2 separate regions of the Homo sapiens genome follow, and region 1 is linked to region 2. Evidence: promoter capture Hi-C in human tissues and cell types (Jung and others, 2019). All regions are on one chromosome and are shown on one strand. Each heading gives the region's core, a stretch centred on a gene start or on the middle of the fragment in contact. The rest is flanking DNA. Distances are from core to core; before and after follow the strand shown. Region 1 has its middle 67 kb from the start of NNAT. Region 2 holds the start of GHRH (growth hormone releasing hormone).

Evidence for each region. Contacts are between HindIII fragments. The study calls those that stand out against the background at their distance.
Region 1: a contact is called between a fragment that was not itself captured here and the fragment with the promoter of GHRH in region 2, in 2 of the 25 tissues and cell types used here (IMR-90 fibroblasts and lymphoblastoid cells).

What each region holds. Positions count from the first base shown.
Region 1 is chr20:37,451,207-37,458,152 of GRCh38, reverse strand. No RefSeq gene overlaps it. Among named protein-coding and RNA genes, the nearest start is that of NNAT, 67 kb to the left of the region's middle. The HindIII fragment of the contact is 6,428 bases long and covers 2,205-6,946 here.
Region 2 is chr20:37,259,661-37,266,782 of GRCh38, reverse strand. It overlaps GHRH (growth hormone releasing hormone), which reads left to right and starts at 4,969. Exons shown (of 5, transcript NM_021081.6): 1 at 4,969-5,040. RefSeq lists silencers at 1,328-1,377, 1,518-1,637. The HindIII fragment of the contact is 8,848 bases long and covers 1-7,122 here.

The DNA of each region.
Region 1 (6,946 bases), core at 4,169-6,668, 190 kb before region 2:
AGGCCTCCTGCCAACAGCCCTGGGAGGGAGCCATCTTGGAAGCAGATCCTTAGCCCCAGTTGAAGCCTTCAGGATGCAGCAGCCCCAGCTGTCAGCCTGACTACATCTCATGAGAAAACCTGAGCCAGAAACACTCAACCAGGCTGCTCAAAGAATTTTGACCTCGGAAACTGTGAGAAAATGATTTTGTCATGTTAAGCTGATTGCATGGGCGTAATTTGTTGTTATGTTGTAAAAGATGATACACCAACTTGAGGAATCTGATATTTCTCACAGGAGCAATGGGGTGCAGTGGAAGGCGTTAGAGAGAGGAAATGACATAGAACGTTCTGGGATTAGTGCTATGGTCTGAATGTTTATGTCCCCCCACAAAATTCATACGTTGAAATCCTAATCTGCAGGTGATGGTATTAGGAGGTGGGGCCCTTGGGGGATGATTAAGTCATGAGGACTCTACTCTTATGAATGGGATTAGTGCCGTTGTAAAAGGGGCCTGAGGAAAAAAACAAACAAGTCCATTAAAAAACGGGCAAAGGATATGAACAGATACTTCTTAAAAGAAGACATACATGTGGCCAACAAGCATATGAAAAAATGTTCCACATCACTGATCATTAGAGAAATGGAAATCAAAACCATGGTGCAATACCATCTCACACTGGGCAGAATGGCTATTATTAAAAAGTCAAAAAATAACAGATGCTGGTGAGGTTGCAGAGAAAAGTGAATGCTTATACACTGCTGGTGAGAATGTAAACTAGTTCAGCCACTGTGGAGAGCAGTTTGGAGATTTCTCAAAGAACTTATAATAGAACTAATATCTGACCTAGCAATCCCATTACTGGGTATATACCCAAAGGAATAAAATCATTCTATCATAAAGACACATACATGTTCATCATAGCACTATTCACAATAGCAAAGACCTGGAATCAACCTCAATGCCCATCAACAGTGGACTAGATAAAGAAAAATGTGGTAAATATACACCATGGAATACTATGCAGCCATAAAAAAGGACAATATCTTGTCCGTTGCAGCAACGTACATGGGGCTGGAGGCCATTATCCTAAGTGAATTAATGCATGAGCAGAAAACCAAATACTGCATTTTCTCACTTATAAGTGGGAGCTAAACATTGAGTACACATGGACACAAAGAAGGGAGCAATAACATAGAGGCCTACTTGAGGGTGGAGGGTGGGAAGAGGGTGATGATGGAAAAACTACCTATCAGGTACTATGCTTATTACCTGGGTAATAAAATAATCTGCACACTAATGCCCCGAGACATGCAATTTACCTATATACCAAATCTGCACATGTACCCCATGAATGTAAAATAAAAGTTGGAAAGAAAAATGAATGATTTTCTTAAAAAGTGGCCTGAGAGAGACTCCTCAGCCCTTGCACCATGTAAGGACACAGCTGAAAGGCACTGTCTATGGACCAGAGAGCCTTCATCAGACACCAGATCTGCTGGTGCTGTGACCTTGGACTTCCCAGCCTCCAGAACTTTGAGAAATAAATATTTGTTGCTTGTAAACCACCCAGTCTATGGTAATTTGTTATAGAAGCCTGAATAGAATAAGGCATTTAGAAAGAATTTTCTTGGTCCCAGAGTGAAGAAGGGATTGGAAGTCACAAGATTCACAGAACACTTCATACAGGTGGAGACTCTGAAGCTAGGTGTCTGTGCCACATAGCTGAGCCAGGGAGTTGTACTCTGGGCAGAGGAAGAAGCCTGTGCTGGGGCAAGGAGGCCAGACATTGTCTTATGTCAGAGGTGGTAGGTGTAGGTAGAGAATGAGATTCTGAGCATAACTGTGAATGGATGGTGAGCTGCTTAGGCCCTGAACAGGCCTTTCTACCCCTTCCCCATCCTAACCTCAGCCAGCACCAGCAGTTGCTCCAGGATGTGTTGGGCACCTACAGAAACGCTGCTCAACTTAAATCCCTGTGAGCCCCACAGTCAAGCCGAACTATCCCCACTGTGCACTGGGGATGCAGCAGTGAATAAACAGACAAAATTCTCTGCCCTCATCAAGCTTCCATGTTAATGGAAAAAAGACAGGTATAGAGCAGAAGGAGGTTAGGGGACGAAGACAGGCAATTAATTTTATAGACAGTAAATATATACATAGAGAGAAATACACAAGGTAATGGGGCATTACAAGTTGAGGTAGTTTCAATTCTAAGTAAAGTGATATCTTATCTCAGGCTGCTATAACAAAATACCATCTACTGGATGGTTTAAGCAATATTTATTTTTCGTCGTTCTGGAGGCTGGGAAGTCCAAGATCAAGGTGCCAGCGTATTTGGTGTCTGGTGAGGGCCCTGTTCCTAGTTTGCAGATGAAAGCTTTCTTGCTGTATCCTCACATGACACAGAGAGAGGGATCTGGTCCTCTCTTCCTCTTCTTTTAAGGGAACTAATCCCATCATGGAGGCTTAACCCTCATGACCTCATCAAAACCTAATCACTTCCCAAAGGCCCACTTCCAAATACCACTACACTGGGCATTAAGGCTTCAACACCTGACTTTTGGGAAAACGCAAACATTCAGTCCATAGCAGGTGGTTAGGGAAGGGTTCACTGAGAGGGTAACATGAGCACTTGTGAAGTGAGCAAGTTGGCCACGTGGATATCTGGGGGAAGCGTTCCAGGTAGAGGGAACCAAGTGCAAAGGCTCTAAGGTGGGATCATGACTCCCAATGTCTCTACTAACCAATAAAGAGCTTTATGAAAATTAGAAAAAAAAACTAGGCAAAACATTGGAAACAATTGTTTGCAGACATTGAACAACAGGCAGTAGCATAAGACAGTGATCCCTGAAGAAAGGTAAGCAAATCAAGTTAGCTCTACAGTTCACCCAGCTTTCTGTCTGGAGGCATCTTAGGTGCAGGGAGGGGAAATTCAAATAGAGTCCAGCAGTATTGCTGAGTTGATCTTTGAGACCAAGAACAAAGTTCAGGTAGGCTTAGGTGGCTGTAAGTTGAGGGGCAGAGTACCTGACTGAAGGAAGAAAAACAGCTCCAGAAATCTACATGTGTCCTCTTGAATCACTGCCATGTGCAAGGCTTCAGGTGTGTAGGGTGAAATTCCCTGAGGCCAGGCAAAGAAAGACTGAAGCATTTTAATTTGAACAATTCCTAGAAGTCACACAGGTTAGGAACTATCCCATAAGTGAAGGCTACTGTGGACCCACCCTAAAAGAGCTTAAAAATAAGCCTCAAAATGATCAAAGTAATTAGCAAGTAATTTAACTGCATGCCACTCTTTAACAGAAGACAACACAATTCCAGACCATCAATAGTGTAACATTTACAATGTCCAGCATCCAATCAAAAATTCCTAGACAGGCCAAGAACCAAAAATTGTAGCTCATAACTAGGAGAAAAATCAGTAAATAGAAACAGATCCCAAAATAACAGATAATGAAACAAGTAAGCAAGAATGCTAAAGGTCTTTTCTATCTATATATTTAAAAGAAATAGACAATCTTTCTTCTAAGCAGAGGCAACCCCAAACCAGGGCTCATGGCTTGGAGAACAGAACAAGGGCTGGGTTTTGTCCTCCACTGACATCCTCTGCCAGGTGCCCTCATGCCATGAACAACCATAGGTGACAGCCCTGGTGTCTGTCTGCTCAAGGAACACCAAGGAAGCCCATGTGGCTGGAGCAACATGAGCAAGGGGGAAAGGAGTGGGAGATGAAAGGAGAGAGGTAACAGGAAATAGACTGGGTAAGGCCTGTGGGCCATGGTGAGAATATTAACTTTTACTGTGAGTGACATGGAAGCTATGGGAGGATTTAAGCAAAGGTGATTCATGATTCTTCCAGAGGTTAATGGAGGATGAAGAGGGGGTGGGAGTGGAGGATGGACAACAAAGGAGGAAGCCTCTTCAGTTGTCCAAGCACAGGATGCTGGGGCCTGGCCAGAGAGAGGGGCTGAAGGGATTGGGGTTAGAAGGGTCTCAGAGTGGTCCCTTGGAAAGAGACTTGGCAGGAAGTGGGACAGATGTGCCGTGGGCAGCAGAAGGAGTTAGAGATGGCTCAGTCTCCCACTGCAGCCTGAGGCAGGCAGCGGGGCTCAGTGCTAATGCGAACTGGAAGAGAAACACATCTCAGGGTGTGAAGATGATGCAATGGGTTGGATTCTCCTGGGGAGGAATCTAGTGGCTTGCGAAGAAGAGAAAAAGGTGGGGAGTCTTGGTTGCAGGAGCAGTTAGGGAGATGTCAGCACAGAGGGCAGGGGATGAGTTCATCCGGGGAGTGTGTGAGGAGTGAGAGAAAGAGAAGGAAAGGAAGACAGACCAGACAGGAAGACCCTGCCCCAGAGTTAGCTGAGCATGCTACAGATGGCTGGATGGAGAGGCAAGCAGATGAAATGTCCATGAGAGTGACAGAGAGTGGAAGCCAACCCTGACCATGCCTCAGAAAGAGATGACCCACTTACACGTACACACAAGTACACACACACACAGCAGGAATGATGCGTGGACAGAGCAAATTCCATAAGTTTCCTCTGGAGAGCAGAAGGAAGTGCAGCTGAGGAGGATGAAGGCAGGGGTGGGAGAAGGGGGCTCGGAGAGACAGGCCCACAGACAGGCAGAGACCCAGGGGCAGTACACAGAGGGGGCACACACACTGACTCACGTATGGGAGCTGTCCAGCTCCTGGAAGATGCTCAATGTCCAAAGTGGGTGGATGAATGGATGGCAGAGCAAGTGGATGCACAGGGGTGAGAAGTCACCAAGTGAATGAGAATCAGAAGGAGAAAAGGCTCCAAGTAAAGAGGAACCCACAGATGTGACCCAGGGTGAGACACACAAACACAGTTGTGTTGCAACATGGGGACCAAATCTAGAGGGAATATGGAATAATGAGAGAGAATGGGAAAAGGAAGGAGAGAGATTCAGAGAGGCAAAGAGGCAGATGTGTGCACACACAGACAGACAGACAAGCAGGCACACGGCAGCCTGATCACACACTGGGGACCCTAGAGTGAGACACAGAAAGAGGCCATGCACAGAAGCTGCTACCACCTCACCAAAAGAGCAGGGACACCAACATGCTCATCGGCAGGAGGAAGCCAGCTCGGCCATTGTGCATCTGATAAAAGAATGTGATGCACCTAAACTCTGACATGGAAGCAGACCCAAGACACATTGCTGAATGAGGAAGGCCACTGCCAAATCACATGCACAGTGTGTAGTATTTATGTTCAAACAACAATAACCAAACCAACAATAATAGAACAAGTTTTCTCTTCTTTCCTTCCTTCCTTCCTTCCTTTTTCCTTCCTATCAATCATCTAGCTAGCTAGCTACCAGTATAATTCACATCAGTCTAATAACTGAGGATCCATGTGGGAAAATAAGTAGAAATCAGGATTTGGGAGGAGGTTTCAAAGGAGACTTTAGTCCTTCCTTCCTGAAATTTTAGTGTTTTTTTTCAACTTGAAGTTCCTCCAGCTTCAGACATTCCTCAGCCTTCCTCTGTGCTGACACTCAGAGAGAACTCAGATGCAGGCTCTCAAGATGCCCGTGGTCTGGCGGGAAAGATCCCCCCAAACACATGCATGTGCCTGGCTGTTCCCAGGGGTGTGATCCTGTGATGCTATGGGGGCTTTCAGGGGAGAGGCCCTGGGACTTCATCAGGGAGGATGAAGTGCCTGAGCCAAGAGAAGCCTTGCTGTGTGCCAGGCAGACAGGTGAGAGGCGTTCCTGCCAAGGGCAGCTTGAGCAAAGGCCAGAAGGTGGGGAGAGGGTGAGTCTTTCTGCACTGCAAGAGGTTCCTTGTGACTGGAGACAGGGCAGAAGGATAAGTCACCAAGAGTGTGAGGGTTTGGCCTTGCCCAGAGCCTTAAAGCAGGAAAAATTGGCTTGAAGTTTATCAGGAGGGTGGGGAGGTGGGGAAGCTGGCTTAGTGGGGTTAGGCCAGTGAAGGGTGAGCTGCCAAGTGGGAGATTTAGAAAGGTGGCTTGGGTGGCCTCACCAAGTGTAGACAGGAAGGGGCAAGGCTGGAGATGGGAAACCCGGGAGGCCCTGGGAGCTGACACCCAGATGGGATGGTGGTGGTGTGCTGGAGGCACAGCCCTATGGTGGGACTGGATGTGGTCAGAAGGAGTCAAGAAAGTGCCTGAGACTTGGTCTACTTGTGCTGAGGATGGGGAGCTGGGCAGGTGAGGAGGTTGGAGAAAAGAAGAGCAGTGTGGGAAGGGCAGGGAAGTGTCTAGTCCTGTGTTCAGGTACATGGATGTGCAAGTCCCAGTTCAGGAGAGAGCTCTATGTCCAAGAAGGACAATGGGTGGCCACAGATGTCCTGGGGGTGGAGGAAGCTGCCCTTGGGGAACGGGCAGGGCAGGAAGCGGTGGAGGACTGAGCTCTGGGAAGCATCAGTATTGAGAGGTGGATGGAAGAGAGAAACTGCCCAATGGGTGGGAGAAAAGCCAGGAGCACCCAGTGTCCTGAAGGAGGAGACAGTGGCCTCCCAAGCAAGGATGGGCACCCCAATCAGGACCCCAATGGGCCAGGAGAAATGAGGAGGAAAAAGGGACCATGGGCTTTGGCAAGAAGGAGGTCTATGGAGAGCTCTCTTGAGAACCATGGTGGGCTCAATGTGGCTGAGGTCCCTTGCCAAGGATGGGGTATGCGTGGGCTGGGAATGGAAGCAAGTAAAGCCAAGGGTCCCTTTCCCAGATTTTCTGCAGATGGACAGAGAGAGAAGACAGAGCATGGGAGGAACAGGTCACCAGAACACATCTCTCATGCTGGAAAGCAGACTCAGAAGGAGGGAAGAGGATGGCTGTCACCAGGGCAACCATGCTGGCCATGGGATGAAAGGAGCAAAGGAGGAGATGGGAGATTTGGGAGAAAGAGTCAGCACAAGTTTAAAGGAAGGAGGTGGGGAGAAGGGGAAGCCTGGATTTCTGTCCCTGGAGA
Region 2 (7,122 bases), core at 3,720-6,219:
TCCTAGGTACCCACCCAAGATTAATGAAAACATGTTCACACAAGGTCTCCTACTGAAATATTCATAGCAGTTCAGGCAGGGTGACTCACACCTGTAATCTCAACACTTTGGGAGGCCGAGGTGGGAGGATCACTTGAACCCAAGAGTTTGATAGAGAGAGACCCTGGGCAATATAGAGAGACCCCATTGCTACAAAAAAATTTTTTTTAATTAGCTGGGCGCAGCGGATCACGCCTGTGGTCCCAGCTACTCAGGAGGCTGAGGTGGGAGGATCACTTGAGCACAGGAAGTCAAAGCTGCAGCGAGCTGAGATTGTGCCACTGCACTCCAGCCTATGTGACAGCAAGACCCTGTCTCAAAAAAAAAAAAAGTTCGTAGCAGCATAATTCATACTAGCCCCAAACTGGAATCAACCCAAATGTCCATCAAGGTGAATGGGTAAACAAACAGTCATACATCCATACAATGGAATAAAAAGGAACAAACTATTAATACCTGGATCAACATGGATGAAGGTCAAACATTATGCTGAGTGAAAGAAGCCTGACACCAAAAAGTGCGTATTTTATTTGATTTATTATGATTTACTCATCATATAAAAGATTCCATTTATAGGAATTTCCTAGCAAAGGAAAAACTGTAAGACAGCAGATTAGGGGTTGCCTAGGGCAGGGGGCAAGAGTGGAGACTGAGAGCAAATGGGCTAGAGGGAATTTTTGGAGGGACAGAAGCATTCCAAAACAGGATTGTGGCAATGGTGGCACCACCGTATAAATGTATGAAAGCTCATGGAGCCATAGACTTAAAACCAGTGAGCTTTATGATATGTTAACTCTTTTTTGTTTGTTTATTTGTTTTTTAGATGGAGTCTCCCTCTGTCGCCCAAGATGGAGCACAGTGGCGCGATCTTGGCTCCCTGCAACCTCCACCTCCCTGGTTCAAGCAATTCCCCTGCCTCAGCCTCCCGAGTAGCTGGGATTACAGGCGCATGCCACCACGCCCGCCTAATTTTTTTGTATTTTTAGTAGAGACAGGGTCTCACCATGTTGGCCAGATTGGTCTCGAACTCCTGACCTCAGGCAATCCGCCTGCCTCGGCCTCCCAAAGTGCTGAGATTACAGGTGTAAGCCACCACGCCCGGCCAAACTGTTGAAGTTCTTTTTAAAAAAAAAAAAAAAAAAATTAGAACTGGTAGGCCCAGGAAGGGCCTTAGTGTGGGGCAAACAAATTGGAAATCAGAAAACTTTTTTTTCCTTTTTTTTTCAATAGAGACAAGGTGTCACTCCATTGCCCAGGCTGGAGTACGGAAGCACGAACATAGCTCACTGCAGCCTCTAACTCCTGGGCTCAAGTGATCCTCCTGCCTCAGCCTCCTGAGTAGCTGGGGCTGTAAGGAAGTCAGAAAACATGTTTGAGTCATAGCTCTTCCAGCTACTGACTAGCTCTGTGGCTGTGGCTGAGCACGTAACCTTTCATGCCTGTTTCCTCATTTACCGCAATGACAAGAACAGCAATTATCAAAGCTAAATTGTGAGCTCTGCCCTATGCCAGGTCTGCCCTTTATGCAATGTCACAATAATTCTCACCCAAGAGCCTCATAAGTTGAGCTCTATCACTCCCATTTTACAAATAAGAAAACTGAGATAGGGCGTGAAGTCTGTAGCACAATGCCTGGCACAGAGTTTCAACCGAGGCTGGATTCTGAGCCCCATGGCTTCTCCGGCCAACTCCATGTAACCTGCATCTGTGCCCTGGACCAGCGTCCACTCTGGGTGCCCAGCTCTGCATGGTCCCCACTTTGCATTTCCAGGAGTTACCCCACACTTCCTGACTGTGCGAGAGCCCATAGCCCTGGGGCTCCCAACTGCTTCGTCTGCTCCCTGCTGCTGTGACCTGCACTTTTTTTTTTTAAATAATATTTGAGTTCTGGCCAGGACAACATAGTGAGATCTCATCTCTACTAAAAATAAACAAAATTAGCTGGGCATGGTGGCGTGCAACTGCAGTCCCAGCTACTCAGGAGGCTGAGGTTGGGGACTGCTTGAGCCTAGGAGGTCAAGGCTGCAGTGAGCTGAGATCTCACCACTACACTCTAGCCTGAGCGAGACCCTGTCTCCAAAAAATTAAGTAAATAAAATAATAATAATAATAATTAATTTAAAGCTATCAACCCATTTATTTTTATTTTTATTTTTATTTATTTATTTATTTTATTTATTTTTTTGAGACGGAGTCTCACTCTGTCACCCAGGCTGGAGTGCAGTGGCACCATCTTGGTTCACTGCAAGCTCCGCCTCCTGGGTCCTGAGCCATTCTTCTGCCTCAGCCTCCCGAGTAGCTGGGACCACAGGCACCCACCACCACGCCCGGCTAATTTTTTGTATTTTTAATAGAGACGGGATTTCACCATGTTAGCCAGAATGATCTCGATCTCCTGACCTCGTGAGCCGCCCGCCTCAGCCTCCCAAGGTGCTGGGATTACAGACGTGAACCACCACGCCCTGTTTTTATTTATTTTTTTTTTTGAGACAGAGTCTCACTCTGTTGTTCAAGCTGAAGTGCAGCGGCGCCATCTCGGCTCACACCAACCTCTGCCTCTGGGGCTTAAGCTATTCTTGTGCCTCAGCCTCCCCAGTAGCTGGGATTACAGGCACATGCCACTACACCCAGCTAATTTTTTTGTATTTTAGTAGAGACGGGGTTTCACCATGTTGCCCAGAGTGGTCACGAACTCCTGAGCTCAGGCAGTCCGCCTGCCTCGGCCTCCCAAAGTGCTGGGGTTACAGGCATGAGCCACCGCACCTGGCCACTATCAGCCCATTCTTAATCCTTGGGGATCTGGCCTGACCTGACCACTTCGTATCCTGGCCAGCAAGGTGACATACCACTCAAGCCTTGCTTCTATGAGAAACATCTCATATTTGCTAGATGCCAAGAACATGGCTCAGTGCAGGCTAAGAAGGAGAACCACAAAATAGTGTTGCTAAGGGGACTCTTGGAAATTACTGGCTTGTAATTGTGACCCATCGAGGTACCTCAGGGATAGGCAAGGGGGTCTCCACTTCCCCCTCTTCAACCAGAGTAGCCCCATATTAAAAACCTGTCTCTGTAGGTTTCCAAAGAAAGAGTTTTGCTACTTTTTAAAAAATGTTTGGGCTGGGTGTGGTGGCTCACACCTGTCATCCCAGTGCTTTGGGAGGCAGAAGCACGTGGATCACCTGAGGTCAGAAGTTTGAGACCAACCTGGCCAACATGGTGAAATCCCATCTCTACTAAAATACAAAACTTAGCCAGGCGTGGTGGTACGCACCTGTAATCCCAGCTACTCTGGAGGCTAAGGCAGGAGAATCATTTGAACCCGGGAGGTGGAGGTTGCAATGAGTCGAGATTATGCCACTGCACTCCAACCTGGGTGGCAAAGATAGGATCCCTCTCAAAAAAATAGTTTGAAAGTTGCTGTTCTATGTCAACTCTCAAGTTTCCAGGTAGAAACTGAGGCCCGGAGGGTAGAAGTTTTTTTTCTTTTTTTGAGACAGAGTCTCGCTCTGTCGCCCAGGCTGGAGTGCAGTGGCACGATCTCGGCTCACTGCAACCTCCACCTCCCGGGTTCAAGCAATTCTCCTGCCTCAGCCTCCTGAGTAGCTGGGATTACAGGTGCCCACTACCACACCCAGCTAATTTTTGTATTTTTAGTAGAGACGGGGTTTCACCATGTTGGTCAGGCTGGTCTCGAACCCCTGACCTCATGATCCACCCGCCTCAGCCTCCCAAAGTGCTGGGATTACAGGTGTGAGCCACTGCACCCAGCCAGGTAGAAGTAACTTCCTAAGGGTCACAGAGGTCATGATTGACAGGCTTGGGAGAGGCAGCAGGTCCCTAGACTCGAGGCTTGGAGCTCTTTCCACACCTCCACGACGGCCGCCTGGGAAACCAGAGCTTCTGCCTCCTGTGCTTTTATGTCATTCCTGAGGATTTCTTAGCTATAGGCTAGAGAAATCTGGAAACACAACAACTCTCCCAAGGTTTTCCATCTCTTCCCTCTCATTTCACACTTCTCTGAGGCAACTGCCAATGTCTGGCTGCCTTGACAGGTGACGACGGATGCCCCCAGGCTAGCTGTTGAAATCAGCCTGTGACCAAGCAGGTGTAAATCAAATAGTGCAGAATTCTGATAATTGGACGACAAGGGAGATAGGGAACAAATTCCCCACTAAGGAGAGAATAACGCTTATTCATAATGTTGTCTACCCAAAAGTGAAATAAAATTACACAGGGACAAAGCTAAATTATATGAACTTTTGAAAAGGCACATTTATCTTGGAGAATCAATAAACTCTTGGTGTTTCACTGTTATGAGTTCTCCAATTATTTTTAACACATATTTTTTCTTTTTTTAAAAAATATATATTTTGAGATAGAGTCGTGCTCTGTCACCCAGGCTGGAGTGCCATAGCGTGGTCTTGGCTCACTGCAACCTCCGCCTCCCAGGCTCAGGTGACACTCTTGCCTCAGCCACCTGAGTAGCTGGGACTATACCCATGTGCCAACATGCCCAGCTAATTTTTAATTTTTTTCTAGAGACAGGGTCTCATTATGTTGCCCAGGTTGGTCTCAAACTTCTGAGCTCAGGCAATCCACCCGCCTCAGCCTCCCAAAGTGCTAGGATGGCAGGTGTGAGCCACCGCGCCCAGCCGAGTTCTCCAATCACTATTATAGCAGTATATATTCTCTATATCCTCTTGGAATAATGTTACACCTTTGTACTATGTCCACTGTGCCAAAGATAAAAGGAGACTTTACCAGGAGTCTAAGTCTGCAAGGGGCCAAACCTCTTTCACCAACAGGGTTTGTCAGTGTGATATGATGCTAAAAACAGTCCTTTGGTTGACTTGTGGGTAATTGATTCTCTGACGCTGACAACGCTTAGGAAAATGAAGAGATAAATGATGGGAACGCCAGGCGGCTGCCAGAGCAAACACCCAGCCCAGGGCCCCTGGATTTGAGCAGTGCCTCGGAGCAGAGGGATATCTGCCGCATCAGGTGAGAGGGGTGGCCCTGGGGGGGCTAGGCTGGGTGGGGGTAAGAAAAGTTAACCTTCTCACCAACTTAGAAACACTGAGTCCAAGAGGCCCACCGCCATCCTCTTTGCCCATGGACTGGTGAGTACATTTGAGCCCCTCTCTGGATAAAATCACCCCTCAATAGGGGCTCTGGAATAGGCTTTTGATGGTGCTGTTTGGGGCTTGTCTTAACTTGGGCGCGTGGCGGACTGGCTCCAGGTGTCTGTCGCAGGTGGTGAGGTCTCAGTGCTCCTTCGAGGATGCGTGGGCAGGCTTCGGGGGCAAACGTGAGTTGGCTCGATTTTCCTGTCAGCGATGGGATTCTGCCATGGATCAGAGATGAGCCAAGTGGCTGTGCAAATCAATACTGCTCATTGATCACTCAGAACTGATTCAATGTAATTGCCGGGAAATTGATAACATTTTGCTTTCTTGCTCAATTGCAGCCACACTCTTTACTCCAGGTTTTAGACACAATTATCTGCCTTTGGAGTCCTCCGCTACCCCACGCCTGTCTCCTGATCCTTGCTTTAATGGTCCTGAAGTATTTGTGTCTTTCACCATAGACTGCCTCAAACCCCTTCTGGAAGGAGGTGGAGTGTCACTCTTTTGAATGACAGTTCAAGATGCTTCCTCATTAAAAACTTAGATTTCTTTTAACTTGGAATGCTGTCACTGAAACAGTTTATAAACCAGATCAGGAAGTCTATGCTTTGGGGTGCTCAAATTTCAAAGGGGGATATTCAAGGAAGGTTAAAGATGTTCTTTCCCTGGGTTTTCAAAAATGGCCTTGCGAATTTGGGTGCTTGAGACCTGACCTCTGTCAGCTGCAGGTGAATCTGCAGAATTCTCCTGGCATTCCTGGCATGAAAGCTGGCAAAAGGTGCCAACGGATGTAGATCAAGTGCCCGTTTATCCTGAATCCAGGCAATCTCAAGTACATCTAATCCCAGAATCAGTAAGCACTGCAGGAAGCTAACCGATGATCATAATGATAGATTATAAACTCTGGAGTGCCTTCAGTCATCAGGGTTGCCAGCAATGCTGTTGGGCTCGGCTACACTTCATTCAGTGAATTTTGACTCCTTAAGTTGTCATGTGGAATGTGTCTGTTGACAGCTATTTTATTTTATTCTTTGAGATGGGGTCTTGCTCTGACATTTAGGCTACTGTGCAGTGGCACTATCATGGATCACTGCAGCCTTAACCTCCCGGGCTCAAGCAATCCTCCCACATCAGCCTCCAGAGTAGCTGGGACTACAGGCATGCGCCACCATGCCTAGATAAGTTTTTTTTTGTTTTGTTTTGTGTGTTTTTTTTTTTGTAGAGATGGGGTCTCGCCATGTTGCTCAGGCTGGAGCTATTTTATCCTTAGTGACATAACCTCTATTCTTCTTATCTTACCCTACACTGGATAATTCTTGTTTCCCATTTTCATCCAGTGGGATCTGCAAACCCATGGATTCGGTTCTCATAGCTCAGAGGTTGCTGTGGGGTCTTGACCTATGCCTGGGGCACAGGATTTGTGGCAAATGTTGAGCCTCTTGGTTAACTTGTGCAGTTGCTGAGCCTTATCTTGAATGAGCGGGGTATTGTGTTTACTATGACTTGCCCTCCCCACCAAAGTCTGCCCTCCTATGAGGTTGTTTCAACTCCCTGAAACTACTGGGTGTGCATAGGGAGGGGCCAATCAAGCAGGTGTTCCTGTTTGTCCCTGTTCTTTCTTCCCCAGAGGCCCAACAACAAAGAGCAAGAAGCTTTCCTTTTTTTCAGACCCTTTCCCACGTGCAGGTGATGGAGGCTGAGGATCCCTGTGAATGGGGAATACTGTGAATAGAGCATTGTACCTGGGAGGCTGCTGCATGGAGCGGAAGGAAGTCTGCCGGCCTGGGAATGAGGAGGCCCACTCTGAAGTGCCCACTCCAAAACTAATTTGATGGAGGATCATGGAAAATGTCCTTGTCCTCTCTAGGCTCTTTTCCTTGGCTGTAAGAGGAGCATGGGGATGCCTGCTCCAGAGGGAGAGTGCAAGGATGGGTTGTGGAGCCTGATAGGGCACAGG